Linked DNA regions of Homo sapiens: regions 2 and 3 are each linked to region 1. Evidence: promoter capture Hi-C in 16 types of primary human blood cells and fetal thymus (Javierre and others, 2016). All regions are on one chromosome and are shown on one strand. Each heading gives the region's core, a stretch centred on a gene start or on the middle of the fragment in contact. The rest is flanking DNA. Distances are from core to core; before and after follow the strand shown. Region 1 holds the start of ACADL (acyl-CoA dehydrogenase long chain). Region 2 has its middle 90 kb from the start of MAP2. Region 3 has its middle 110 kb from the start of MAP2.

Region 1 (4,441 bases), core at 1,710-4,209:
ACTAAAAACAAACAAACAAACAAAAAAAAAAAAAAAAGGAAAAGAAAAAAAAGTGCTGCAGTCAGGGTAGGTTAAACCAGAAAGGTGAGATTTGAGCAAACCCTTGAAGGTGATAGAGTTAGCCAGGCATACCTCTAGAATAAAAGAATTTTAGGACAAAAGAACAACTAGAGCAAAGGCTGTATGTCTGAATGGTGTCTGATGTGTTCTAGAAAGAGCAAGGAGGCAATTGTAGCCAGAGTGGGCTGAGAAGAGTAGATGAGGCCAGAGATTCTAGGAAGAAGAGATAACAGGGGACCAGGACATGCAGGGGACCTTGACCATTGTCCTGTTGCATCAAATAAACTAACATCTACTTTATCCCTATAATGGAAATGATCGGCTCCTTTTTCTTGCTAGTAGAGATAAAATTATAAAGCACGTATTTGTCCATATAGATTTTCCATACTTGAGAGTTTCCCTCAGGAAAAAAATATGCTGAGATTAGGAAACTGGGGCTGTAAGACACCGAATCATTTGTCAACATAATGAGTAAACAATAGAGCCAGAATTTAAAATCGAGTCTTACTGGATCTTAAAATTGAATAGCCTGTACTGTGTTAAGGAAATCTCTGCAATATTTTTAAGTAAAATATATAAAGACATAGGAAAGCAAAAGAAATGCCAAACGAATAAAGACTTTCAGGTCAGTCAAAGGTGGTCAAGAGAGAATATGCAGAGGGAAGAAAATCAAAACACTTGGCAGCAAGTTTATTGCAACATGTATTTCTCAGTCTAAAGATGAAGAAATCTGTAATGGAAAAATTGGCATTTTTTTCTCTAAGGCAATAAACTGCAACTAATCTTATTGGCTAGGCTATTATTGTTTTTTTAAAGTCTCCTACATTTTAAAAGGGAGACAATCTCCACCAGCACCTTCCACACACCTAGAAGCTGGTTATAAATACACAATCTCAGGCCCCATCCCAGACCCACTGAATCAGAAGCTGTATTTTAACAAGATTCCCAGGTGATTCCTTTGCACATTAAAGGTAAAAAAGCTGTTACAACAAAACTGTAGCCCCCCAGCCCATTCAGAGGGTCTCTCAGGTCTCCCTTTTTCCAGTGTTCTCTATTTGAGGGTAGATTTTCTTGCCATGCTTCAATCAAACTAACTTACGCCAATGGATAAAACAGAAGCAGATATAGTTATCTGGTTATCTTCTATTATGCCAGACATTAAGGGAGTTGTAAAAATGTAAAACAATGTCACTCTTTTCACTTTTTTTCTGTTTAGGAAAAGTTATTTTTCATAAAAACTGTTATTTATGTTAACATGTAATGAGCTTCTTATTGTAACTTTTAAATAAACTAAATATCTGTAAAGTTTCTCAGTTATGTAGATACCTTTCGATAACGACAGACGGATAGATATAACCTACATAAACAAAAGTCCTTTGAGGTCCTGTTTAAGAGCATAAGGGAGCCCTGTTATCAAAAAGTTTTGAGGCAGCACTTTGGGAGACCGAGGCGGGCAGATCACGAGGTCAGGAGTTTGAGCCCAGCCTGGTCAATATGGTGAAACCCCCGTCTCTACTAAAAAGATCAGCCGGGTGTGGTGGTGCGTGCCTGTAGTCCCAGCTACTCAGGAAAGCTGAGGCAGGAGAATTGCTTGAACACGGGAGGCGGAGGTTGCAGCAGTGAGCCAAGATCGCGCCACTGCACTCCAGCCTGGGCGACAGAGTGAGACTCTGTCTCAAAAAAAAAAAAAAAAAAAAAAAAGTTTGAGGATCACTGTCTTATAATGTTCCAAGGAAGAGTTAAGTATGTATCCTAAAGAAAAGTCACCTTCTCAGTGACGTCTTCCCAAATCTCCCCAGGAAAAGTAGGCATTTTGTTTCATAGCTCTCAAATAAAATTAGAGTAGCTTACACCAATGCTGTCATTCGCAAATTTGCCAGTTCCTTCACCCTTATTAAATAATGAATTCTCCATGCTTCCAATTTGTTTACCCAGTGAATAGATTTTATGCATCAGACAGTATCTGAAACTTTTGATCATATTATAAACACCACCTTAGTAGTCACTGAACTACTTAGACTCTGTCTTCATTAATCCTCTGTATTTAGTTAGATTTGTTGATATATCTAAAGCTAATTTCCTTGTTTGATGGAACCCTCGCCAGGTCATTTCTAGCCCAGTTTGTCCTGGACAATTCTGGTCCGCGCCGCAGCCCGGGCACTGAGTCCGGGTCCCAAGTTCACTACCGCGCGGCGAGTCTAAGCCGTGGGGAACGCCGGGTTCACAGCTCGAACTGGGACACAGATCGCAGCCCGCGCTCCTGCAGCCGGGCCCAGGGGGTGACCACCTCCTCCCAAAACGCAGGCTCCCGGGTCCCACTGCAGGCCGCTGAACTAGACGGGTTGGATTGGGGCTCCGGAATGAACTTCTGGAGAAATCTTTCGGCTTTCCCCGACGTGGGCTCGGCGGTCTGTTCTCGGGGCGGCACGGCTGACACCCCTTTTTCCTCCGCCCAGATGCTGGTTGCACCCAGTCCGCGGGATCCAGGAAAGGAGGCCAGCTCTAGCCCGGCGCCGGAGTTGGGGAGCACTCCCAGCCGCGCGCGCACCGCCCTGCTTCAAGCCAGCGACAGGAGTGACTCGCTGCCCCACCCCACAGCCTCCCGGCCTGCAGCCGCGGAAGTCCCGGCTGGCACTCACCGCGCGGCGGGCAGCTGGCGCGGCGCACGGTGGCCGCCCAGGACGCGTAGGGACCCTCGGAGAAGGCGTGCGGCCATGTCCGAAACACAGGGGCGGCGGGGCGACGGAGGCGACTCTGCGGCTACTCGGCGACTCGGGGCAGGGTCCCCGGGAGGGAGGACGATCAGCTGAGGCGTCCACCTGTGGTGTCCTCCCAAAAAAGCGCTCGCGCGCGCCCTTCCGGAGCCCCAACCACGCCACAGGCTGGTCGCGAGGGAATACGCCCGTCTTGGCTGTCAGCAATAGGATTTTACAGCGAAACTGCTGCCTTTGCTTGCAGCATTCTTTCTTGTTTATCGAAGCAGCTCTGAGCCTTTTTAGCGTCCTGAAGCGCTTTGAGTAACGGATGAAAGCTATGGAGCCCCCAAATACGCGCAAATACCTAACCATAAAAATGTACGTGAAGTTTATTTTGTAACCTTGGAAATTGATTTACTTAAAGTAGGCTGAATAGTTTGAGCAAACCCTTGAAGGTGATAGAGTTAGCCAGGCATAGCTCTGGGAGCCCATGCTATTTATTGGTAATAGCAAGTAGAACGAATTAATCCGACACAGGATTTAGTAGAGACAGGATTTCACCGTGTTAGCCAGAAAGGTCTCGGTCTCCTGACCTCGTGATCCTCCCGCCTCGGCCTCCCAAAGTGCTGGGATTACAGGCGTGAGCCACTGCGCCCAGCCCGTTCTGTTAATTCTTAAATGTCCAAGTTCAAGTACATCCGTTGAACAATTACTCTCGCCCTCAGTGACATTTCAACTAATAAAAGCATGCCCTGTAGAACTCTCAGGTAAAAGATGTGAAATATCCCTCAAGGGAAACATAAATGGCTCAAAGGGTTCATGAAATCCTGGGTGATTGGCTTAAACTATCTGGGTAGTTTGCTTGACTTTTCATTTAATTTTAGCACAGCTAACTCTACATTCATAAACATATTTGTTCTTACTTCACAAAAGGAAACTCAGTAGAAAAAAACTGATAAACATGCTAACCAAATGTGATTCAAATTAACTTCACCAAGAATGGAACAAACTAGCATTAGAGACACCTGTATTGAAAGGAACACCACATTATTTATATACTGTTGGGAAAAAAGGCTGAGGGTTGGGAAGAAAGCTGAGGCAGGGCTTGCATGACTGACATAATGTCCTCTGGAATGTGTCTAGACTTGCTGGCTCCTTGCTTTTAGCCCTCCTAGGCTCCTATTCCCATTATCTCAAGTAGCAGAACATGTTCCATACAAATGTAAACCTCCATTTACTCACCTGTAAATGAAGAATAACAATATCTATGTCATAGGGTTGTTGGAAAGATTTTTCAGATAACGGAGGTCAGGTGGTTGGCACAAAGACAGGAATACAATAAACATTCGATAAATGGTAATTATTATTGTCATCATTGAGAAATACTCATATTTTGTAGTAGATAAAAGAAAGAACAAATCCTTTAAAAAAACCCTCTACTTTGTGTATTCCAATGCCTATTCAATTAGAAGGCAAATGTTCAAGAAAAGGAACTGCTTATGCTTTTCCTCTGATACCTGGTAGTAAATGTCATGGACTACACGGTCCTTTCTAAACCCCATGAAAATGCCAGCTTCTTTAACCCAAATAACTGCCTGTGTCTGTATCTGTATCTGTATCTGCCTGTTTATAAATGTATAAAAAGTGAGTGATTAGAAATTATATATATATTTTTATATTTGGTT
Region 2 (4,185 bases), core at 1,640-4,139, 890 kb before region 1:
TCATCCATATCCCTACAAAGGACATGAACTCATCATTTTTTATGGCTGCATAGTATTCCATGGTGTATATGTGCCACATTTTCTTAATCCAGTCTATCATTGTTGGACATTTGGGTTGGTTCCAAGTCTTTGCTATTGTGAATAGTGCCACAATAAACATACGTGTGCATGTGTCTTTATAGCAGCATGATTTATAGTCCTTTGGGTATATACCCAGTAATGGGATGGCTGGGTCAAATGGTATTTCTAGTTCTAGATCCCTGAGGAATCGCCACACTGACTTCCACAATGGTTGAACTAGTTTACAGTCCCACCAACAGTGTCAAAGTGTTCCTATTTCTCCACATCCTCTCCAGCACCTGTTGTTTCCTGACTTTTTAATGATTGCCATTCTAACTGGTGTGAGATGGTATCTCATTGTGGTTTTGATTTGCATTTCTCTGATGGCCAGTGATGATGAGCATTTTTTCATGTGTCTTTTGGCTGCATAAATGTCTTCTTTTGAGAAGTGTCTGTTCATATCCTTCGCCCACTTTTTGATGGGGTTGTTTGTTTTCTTCTTGTAAATTTGTTTGAGTTCATTGTAGATTCTGGATATTAGCCCTTTGTCAGATGAGTAGGTTGCGAAAATTTTCACAGAATTGGAAAAAACTACTTTAAAGTTCATATGGAACCAAAAAAGAGCCCGCATCGCCAAGTCAATCCTAAGCCAAAAGAACAAAGCTGGAGGCATCACGCTACCTGACTTCAAACTATACTACAAGGCTACAGTAACCAAAACAGCATGGTACTGGTACCAAAACAGAGATATAGATCAATGGAACAGAACAGAGCCCTCAGAAATAACGCCGCCTATCTACAACTATCTGATCTTTGACAAACCTGAGAAAAACAAGCAATGGGGAAAGGATTCCCTATTTAATAAATGGTGCTGGGAAAACTGGCTAGCCATATGTAGAAAGCTGAAACTGGATCCCTTCCTCACACCTTATACAAAAATTAATTCAAGATGGATTAAAGACTTAAACGTTAGACCTAAAACCATAAAAACTCTAGAAGAAAACCTAGGCATTACCATTCAGGACATAGGCATGGGCAAGGACTTCATGTCTAAAACACCAAAAGCAATGGCAACAAAAGCCAAAATTGACAAATGGGATCTAATTAAACTAAAGAGCTTCTGCACGCAAAAGAAACTACCGTCAGAGTGAACAGGCAACCTACAAAATGGGAGAAAAATTTTTTTTAAAAAACAAGTGAAGTTAGGACACTATGACTCTTCACTATTACTTATCATGTAAAAGATGAGAAAACAGAACTACAGATTGTCTCTTTACCATGGTAAAGTTAGGAGCTCCAAACTAATCTGTGTTACAAAATGTAAAAAACCAATAAAGGATTACTCTAAACAAAGACTGAAAACTTAGATTTCTGATGTAGAAAAATAATACATAATAATGACCACAAATGCGTTTTCCCTAATTACACTTGAAATATGCTTATATTTTGTGTTTTTTTCTATTTTGTACACATGATATATTTAATGAGGTATTTTAAATGAGGACTGAGTAAGCCCTTCCTCTGTGTTGCCTACGTTTTTCACACCCCCAACCATTCCACCCTCACCCTAGCTTGTTTTGTTCTCACATAAAACTTTAAAATTTGATTAAGTAAAAATAATTGCTTTCAGATGACCTATTATGTTCCATAAGCTTTACATAGTTTATTTCATTTGATCTTTACAATAAAACTTGTACTACTGCCATCTCCACTTCTGTCTCCCCATACTTTTTTAAAGAAATAATCATCTTGATGTAACTGAATAACTTAAGACATTGATATATGAGTGTTGCATTACAATTATATAACAACTATATAAAAAATTTAAATAAGCAACTGAAAGGCATAAATAAAACATACTCTTTGGTATTTTCAATTGTTCCTGTGACTGCTACCATATGAATAACCACTCTAGGCTGCTGAAGAATGAGACACGTCATCACCATCATCCCAGCTAACACCTATCCAACTGCTAGACACATGAATGAGGCTATTTAGGTGATTTTTACTCAATATTTCTATTATTTATGCCAATAAGAGTGACAGTACCCTGTAAAGAAGCTACTATGCAATGGGACCCAGAGTTCTTTTAGCGCTAAAACGACATTTTAACAGGTGAAACCTAAAGCTGTATAGCATCTATTTGACCTGTAGAGGGCACCAGCGGCCCAGACAGCAGAATTAATTGCATTTCATTCGGTTTAGACTTGGAAATAAAAACTCTCCTTGCCCTGCACACTCGCTGTGGATTGTCGATGCCAGTGAAAGCCAGCATTAACACTCCCCTGGAGATTTCAGCATGCCATCTCATGGCTGAGTTTCAGATGGGGCCTCAAATTCATATAATTTAGTTCTATTAAAAGCTTTGCAAATTATTAAGATTATTTTTTATCTTAATAAAAGATAAACAGTTTTTAGAAAATTAGGATACAATCCAAATTCTAAAAATTATTAAATCATTTGTAGTGTCATAATAGAAAAACACTCAGAATAGTGAAGCTTCATTATTCAGTCTAGCAAAAAACCTGTTCACCTGAATTAGCAAAAAAGTTCCAATTTTTCTGTAAATACATTTCTTCCTAATTAAGTTAATATCCCTTGATTCATTCAAGTTATTTCCTTAAAAAGGTATATTAAGTTTAAAAGCAAAACAGACCAAATGCATGGCCTTTGCTATCAAACCCCCCTAGCCCAAATCTCACCTCTGTCACTAGTTAGCTGGGTGTCAGAGGTCACTTCTCTTAGCCTCAGTTCCTTTATCTGTAAATAAGAAAAATAAAAATACTTGCTTTATATTATTGTGAAAATTAAATTAGACAATGTGTAAAAATGCTTAGCACAATGTAAGTGCATACAGTCTTGGCAAACAATGATTCCATTACTGAATAGGTACTATTAAGTTGTTATTAGCTTATTAATAGTTTTTGTATAGTGCTTGCTGCAAGGAAAATAATTTCTCTGACATGTCAATACACTAATATTTAAATTAATGTATACAGTTTCTAGGAAATCCTCAGCCACATTTACTTTTGTCTTGGAGATTCACTTTTAGTCAAAGAAGAAAATATTCTTAGGGCTAGTGAAGAGGGTAGCTACTAAAACACGCATTTTCAAACATATTTTTAGATATTAAATAGAAATTTGTTCCCTTGAAATTTTGGAAGCTTAATTCTTGCAATGTTATAAGTAATTAGGTGGCTATAAAGATAATTCATTAATTGAATATAAACAGCTTAATTTTTGTCTGAATTAGGCAAAAGTATGAATTGCAAAACTTTTATCAAGTTTGAAGAAATCTATTATTAAAATAAGAATATGGAACAAGAGGCATTTAGGCTTGAGTTCAAAGTAATAATCATGAAATGAGAAAAAGAAAGATATCCTATAATCACAAATGAAGATAAATCATACCTGTCAATAGTATTTATACATCAAGTTACAGATCATTAAAATAATAAAAGAAAACTGCAAGAAATATGAGTGGAAATAGATAGGGACACAATTAATCCTCACATGTGTAGGGATAAAATTAATCCTCAGATGTGTAGAATCCTCACATCTATAAGCTCAGACACGGAAGTATACAAAAAATACAGACTATAAATAAAAAATAACTAAGTAGGTCTTAGAGAGATACATCCAAATCAATACCTTGAAAATTAACTGGCCTATTTATTGAACATTCACTGCAAAATAAATTGCTAATAAATGTCAAAAAGTAATTTTATGTTCATTATTATTGTTGTTGATAATAGTAACAATACTATAACCTAGAAATAAAATTTGCAGTTAACATATAAGACCTACATAAAAGAAAAATTTAAAAACAATTGAATGGCTTGAAGAAAACATATACTTTGAAATTTTCAGTTGTCTCTGTCAGCACTATGCTGTGAAAAGCTCAGGCTAGAGCTTTTCTGGAGAATGAAGACATAGCATCACCTTCACCCAGCTAACATCTAGTCAATGATAAAGCTATAGATTATGAAGCTATTCTTGACAATCCAGGCCTAGATGAGCTGCCAGCTGACCACAGAATTACCGTGCAGCTGACCCAAGAAAATAATAAATATTTGCTGTTGTAAGCCACTGAGATTTTGGCCAGGTTATTATACCACAAATTAT
Region 3 (4,442 bases), core at 394-2,893, 910 kb before region 1:
CATATGATAAAATTATTTGATAGAACAAGAAAATAAATCCCAAAATTATAAAATCAGCACCACTATTTCTTTGAAATTTTAGCTGCTAAAGGATTCATGTCATTCTCAAACACAATGATAAAGAAATCAGCAATTTTCAAAAATCATGTGACTTAAATCCTTTTTGTTACACTCATTTCTCTCATTTAAGTTTCTGAGAGAACTATTGATTTGTTCTTTTTCTCTGAAAAGATTAAACACCTGGATTTTATCATGTACTCACATTTGAAATTCAAATCATTTGTATATAATGCATTAAATTATTTGAAAAGTCAAATATCACAGATTAGTGTGAGATGATAGCATACTCTGTATGCTATGATATAAAGTGGTTCAGAAGCATGTAATAAGTTCCTGAAATGTCTGTTCCCACTGTATGTAAAATGGCTCACTTTTCAGCAAGATCGGTGATTCCTTATATAAATCTGTTAGCAGCTTTTTGATTATAAGAGGATGGACAGTTCTTTCTCATGAGTTAGTTTGCAAATATTAGTTTTCCTTTTAAAAAGTCCGAACAGAGAACCAATAAGCTTCTTTAACTTTTACAACTGCCTAATACAATTTAAATTACATTTATTAACTTAGTTCTGCAGGTTTGGAAAGTATTTGCACTTGGCATATCCTATCACTCCATCTCCTGTCAGCTAATGTCCTCAGTAGTCTATTTCCAGTTACATGTGTGGAGATACAAGATTGGTGCAATATATTTTTACCCTTTTTAATTCTTGTAGTTGCATGCTGAAATTATTTAATGTGGGATTAGTTGAATGGTGTCTGTCATAGAAAGGGATTGTTGTAGAAAATTTGTTGTCTTTTACCACCTTTAGTTCACTGCTTTTTAATGGCATATAACACTCAAATTTTCCTTAGAAAGGAGTAATAAATAATTTCTGTCAGTCAAAATAATTTAAACTGCTGAGAGGAGTAGAAGGTAACAAGATTTTGGCAAAGCATAAAAACCATGAAGAATCAAGCGAAAAGAAGAAATTCCCAAGATATGTAGTTTAAAATGTCTATAAAGAGATAGGTAAGTGAGGAAATGGTACTACTGCTTATTGTGGATTTGGAAATTATTTTAAAGACAACATAATTTTCATGCATTCAAAGATAGTATTTTGATTGCATTACATAGCTCAGTTCATGGGGAAAATCTCGTACCTGTAATGTTTTCAAGGTAATTCGAAAAATTGTTAAGTATATGTGAGAAATTTGTGTGCTCAAATAACAAAGGCATATTTTTATTTTTATGTCAACTTAATATCAAACTAGGAGTAAATATATTTAGCAATACATATGCTTGACAAAAGATTTTTAACTAAGATGTTTATTTTCTCAATATTAAGTGTAAAAGAAGGGATAAACTAGATTCCTGTTTTTCAATCTCTGTGATTGTCTTTTAACTCTACAGATGTATTTGGAGCATCAGAAAAGTTCACAACATTACATTAGAATGAGTCATACTCTCTGTTCTCAAAGAGTTCACCATCTAATGGAAAGACAGTTACCAAACAATAAAATAGCTAACAATAAGGGAAGCAGAGCAGCAAAGTTTTATGTCTATGTAGGGCTGTCAGAGAAGGATTCACAAAAAAATAGTTACGCTACTTCTTGTGAGAAAAGAAGACTTACATTATCAAGGTATTGAGGTATAGCTCGGAGTATGTGTTCCTGCAAAGGGAACAAACTGTAAAATGAATTAAGTATAAGAGAATGAAGCATTCACATGTTGTTTCAATGTTTTCTGTTTAGAATAACCCAATTTACCATGGTTTTTTATCTCTTGTTTTCATCTAGTCCAACTTAGTTGCTTTATTACTCCAATAAATTAACACTGGATTATTATAGGACAATAAATGAATTAATGGCAGTCAGATTGGTTTGAAGAGACTGAGGACAGTGAGGAATCCTAAAGACCAGAAATAATAAAATTTCAATGTGATGAGAGGCTTATAATTAAGAATCTGTATGTGTCTTCAAAAATAATTAGGTCTCAAATTGTGGCATCTAAAAAGTTACCTTGCAAACACTACTTCAACATTGTGATCTCGCTATTATTATATCTTAGAATTTGATTTTGTGAAACACTACTTCAACATTGTGGTCTTGCTCTTATTATATCTTAGAATTTGATTTCGTGTCTATGTGCTGAAACCACTTCATGGTACTAAGTTAGGTATGTGCTAATAGTTCTTGAGATCATGAGGATACTATTTCTCAGCAGATAATGCACTGAAGTGTTCATTTTCAAAATAAATATACTTAAGGTGCAATAGTGCACATTATGAGTTTCAGATTGTTATATTACCATTAAAATAAATTCTAAGAATATACCTGCTTGGAAAATTCTAATTAGTGTGATTACTATGGAACTGGAAATAATTATTTTAAAACTCGTAAGAGCGTATTTTGAAAAATAATCAGCAGTAGAATAAGAAACTGCCAGATGAGTCACTAGTCTAAAAAGGTAAAATATTTTTCCTTTGAATTCTGCTAAATATATTACTTCTCAGATTCAAGGATAGTGCATTGAAAATTACTTTGTAGAATTTTTCTACGAAAAATATGATATGGGAAAGTCCTGTTCAGCAGGAGAAAAAAACAAGAAAAAGAAATTAGGAAATACGGACACATGAACCAAAGGAATTGATTTGAAATTTACTTATAATTCACATTAGCCCTAAGCTTCAGTCTGGGAGTTATGACTAATAATAAAAAATAAAGAAATAATTATTTTGTGATCCATTATTTTAAAACCAGTAAATACTAACAAATTATTTATATACTTGCATATATTAGTCAACTGTTCTCACAATAATATGCATATCAAACAACTCTAAAACTCAGTAGTGTCCAATAGGAAGCAATTACTTATTATTCATCTGACTCAAGATCTGCTGAGGCTCAGCTGACTTCAGATAAGCTCAAGAAGGCTCGTATTTAAACTGTGGAATATGTTTGGTTTGCTCCATGGGCCTCTCATTCGTCTGAGATCCATAGGCTACCCAGAATATGTTCTTTTCTTGGCAGTGACATTAATAGAAGAGAGAAAACCAAGCCATATGACTAACTACTCTTCAACACTCTGCTTGTTTCAGACCCACTAACAGCCCATGGGCCAAAACAAGTCTTGTGGCCACACTCTGCAATAATTGAATGGAAAAGGGTATTCTGTTCACCATGAAGCTATCGCAAGGGTGGGGATGCAAAATCTGGCTACTAAGAAATAACAAATGAAGACTGATAAGTAAATCTGCCACAACTTTAATATTTGTTTATAAAAAGAAAAGTTTGCATGTATTTTTCTGAAAATTTGGATTTTAAAAAGTGTTTCTAAGAATTAATACATGTGGATAGTAGTAAGTACCCAAAACTAAGAACAGAAATGCTTAGAGATAAATAAATGCTTACATATGCATGCATACATGTATACAGGCCAGTCAGAAGGAAGAAGAGAAAAAATAAGCAAACTCATTGAGGAAGTACAGGAAAGAAAGCACAGAGGAGAAATTGGGAAAACCTGTGCTGAGAGATGTCTCTGGTCCTGCCAGTTTCCAGGTACAGCTCCATTATCCATGCACCATTACTGGTTTTGATATACAAGTCCTGCAATTTTAACACCTACGAAAGAAACTTACATTTTTATCTTCATGCATACAATACACAATGTGCATAAGTGAAGCATTTTATCTCAAATGTAAATGTATACAGAATGCTGTGTTCCTCAGATCTATCCTTATGTTTCAGTGTTATCTATTAAGAGGAAAAAAGAAACAAGAGTTAAAATTGAAATAACTTAAATCTTTCAACTTCCCTCTGACTTTAAGGAGAAAAGAATTTCTTCATTGCCATTTCTATTCCCACCTTCCAATTATTCAAACCAAGTTGCATTCAGAGAATAGCACTGATTGCTGTTTAGCATTCTATTTAGTAATGGGTATGTTATTCTCTGGATTATCTGTTTGCTATTATCTAGTTCTAGATATAGAGAAGGAAATAGAGCAAAAATCTGGACCCTTTGTATCACAGATCTATGAGTTTGAAAAGAGACTCTGGATTGTCCAGTTCACAATGGATCCGGCAAGCCTGCGCAGACTGATAGTGGATGAGTTTAACATTGTTTTCTTTTGTGCCACAAGACACACTACACACTGGTGGTTAAGAACACACACTTTGAAGCCTCACTAGGTTCAAATTGCAGTGTCTTGCTTACTGGCCTTAGCAAGAAATTTTGCAAAAGGGGATGACTTCTAAAACAGGGTATATTCCGCCTATCCTTTAAATGATTATGTCTGTAAAATACTTAGAACACTTTTCTATTATTTCTATAATTTTGGAAAACATTCTTTCAGAGTCTCCAGAACATCACACTTTAATCCCCTCCATCCCACAGATTGTGAGTTCTT

Evidence for each region. Contacts are between HindIII fragments. The CHiCAGO score rates a contact against its expected background, and 5 or more counts as called.
Region 2: a fragment that was not itself captured here is called in contact with the fragment with the promoter of ACADL in region 1 in 1 of 17 cell types (fetal thymus); the score reaches 5.8 in fetal thymus.
Region 3: a contact is called between a fragment that was not itself captured here and the fragment with the promoter of ACADL in region 1, in 1 of 17 cell types (fetal thymus). The highest score is 5.9, in fetal thymus.

What each region holds. Positions count from the first base shown.
Region 1 is chr2:210,222,488-210,226,928 of GRCh38, forward strand. ACADL (acyl-CoA dehydrogenase long chain) reads right to left here and starts at 2,960. Exons shown (of 11, transcript NM_001608.4): 1 at 2,700-2,960. The coding sequence starts at 2,776. The HindIII fragment of the contact is 4,947 bases long and covers 1-4,441 here.
Region 2 is chr2:209,332,413-209,336,597 of GRCh38, forward strand. No RefSeq gene overlaps it. Among named protein-coding and RNA genes, the nearest start is that of MAP2, 90 kb to the right of the region's middle. The HindIII fragment of the contact is 665 bases long and covers 2,558-3,222 here.
Region 3 is chr2:209,313,340-209,317,781 of GRCh38, forward strand. No RefSeq gene overlaps it. Among named protein-coding and RNA genes, the nearest start is that of MAP2, 110 kb to the right of the region's middle. The HindIII fragment of the contact is 2,152 bases long and covers 568-2,719 here.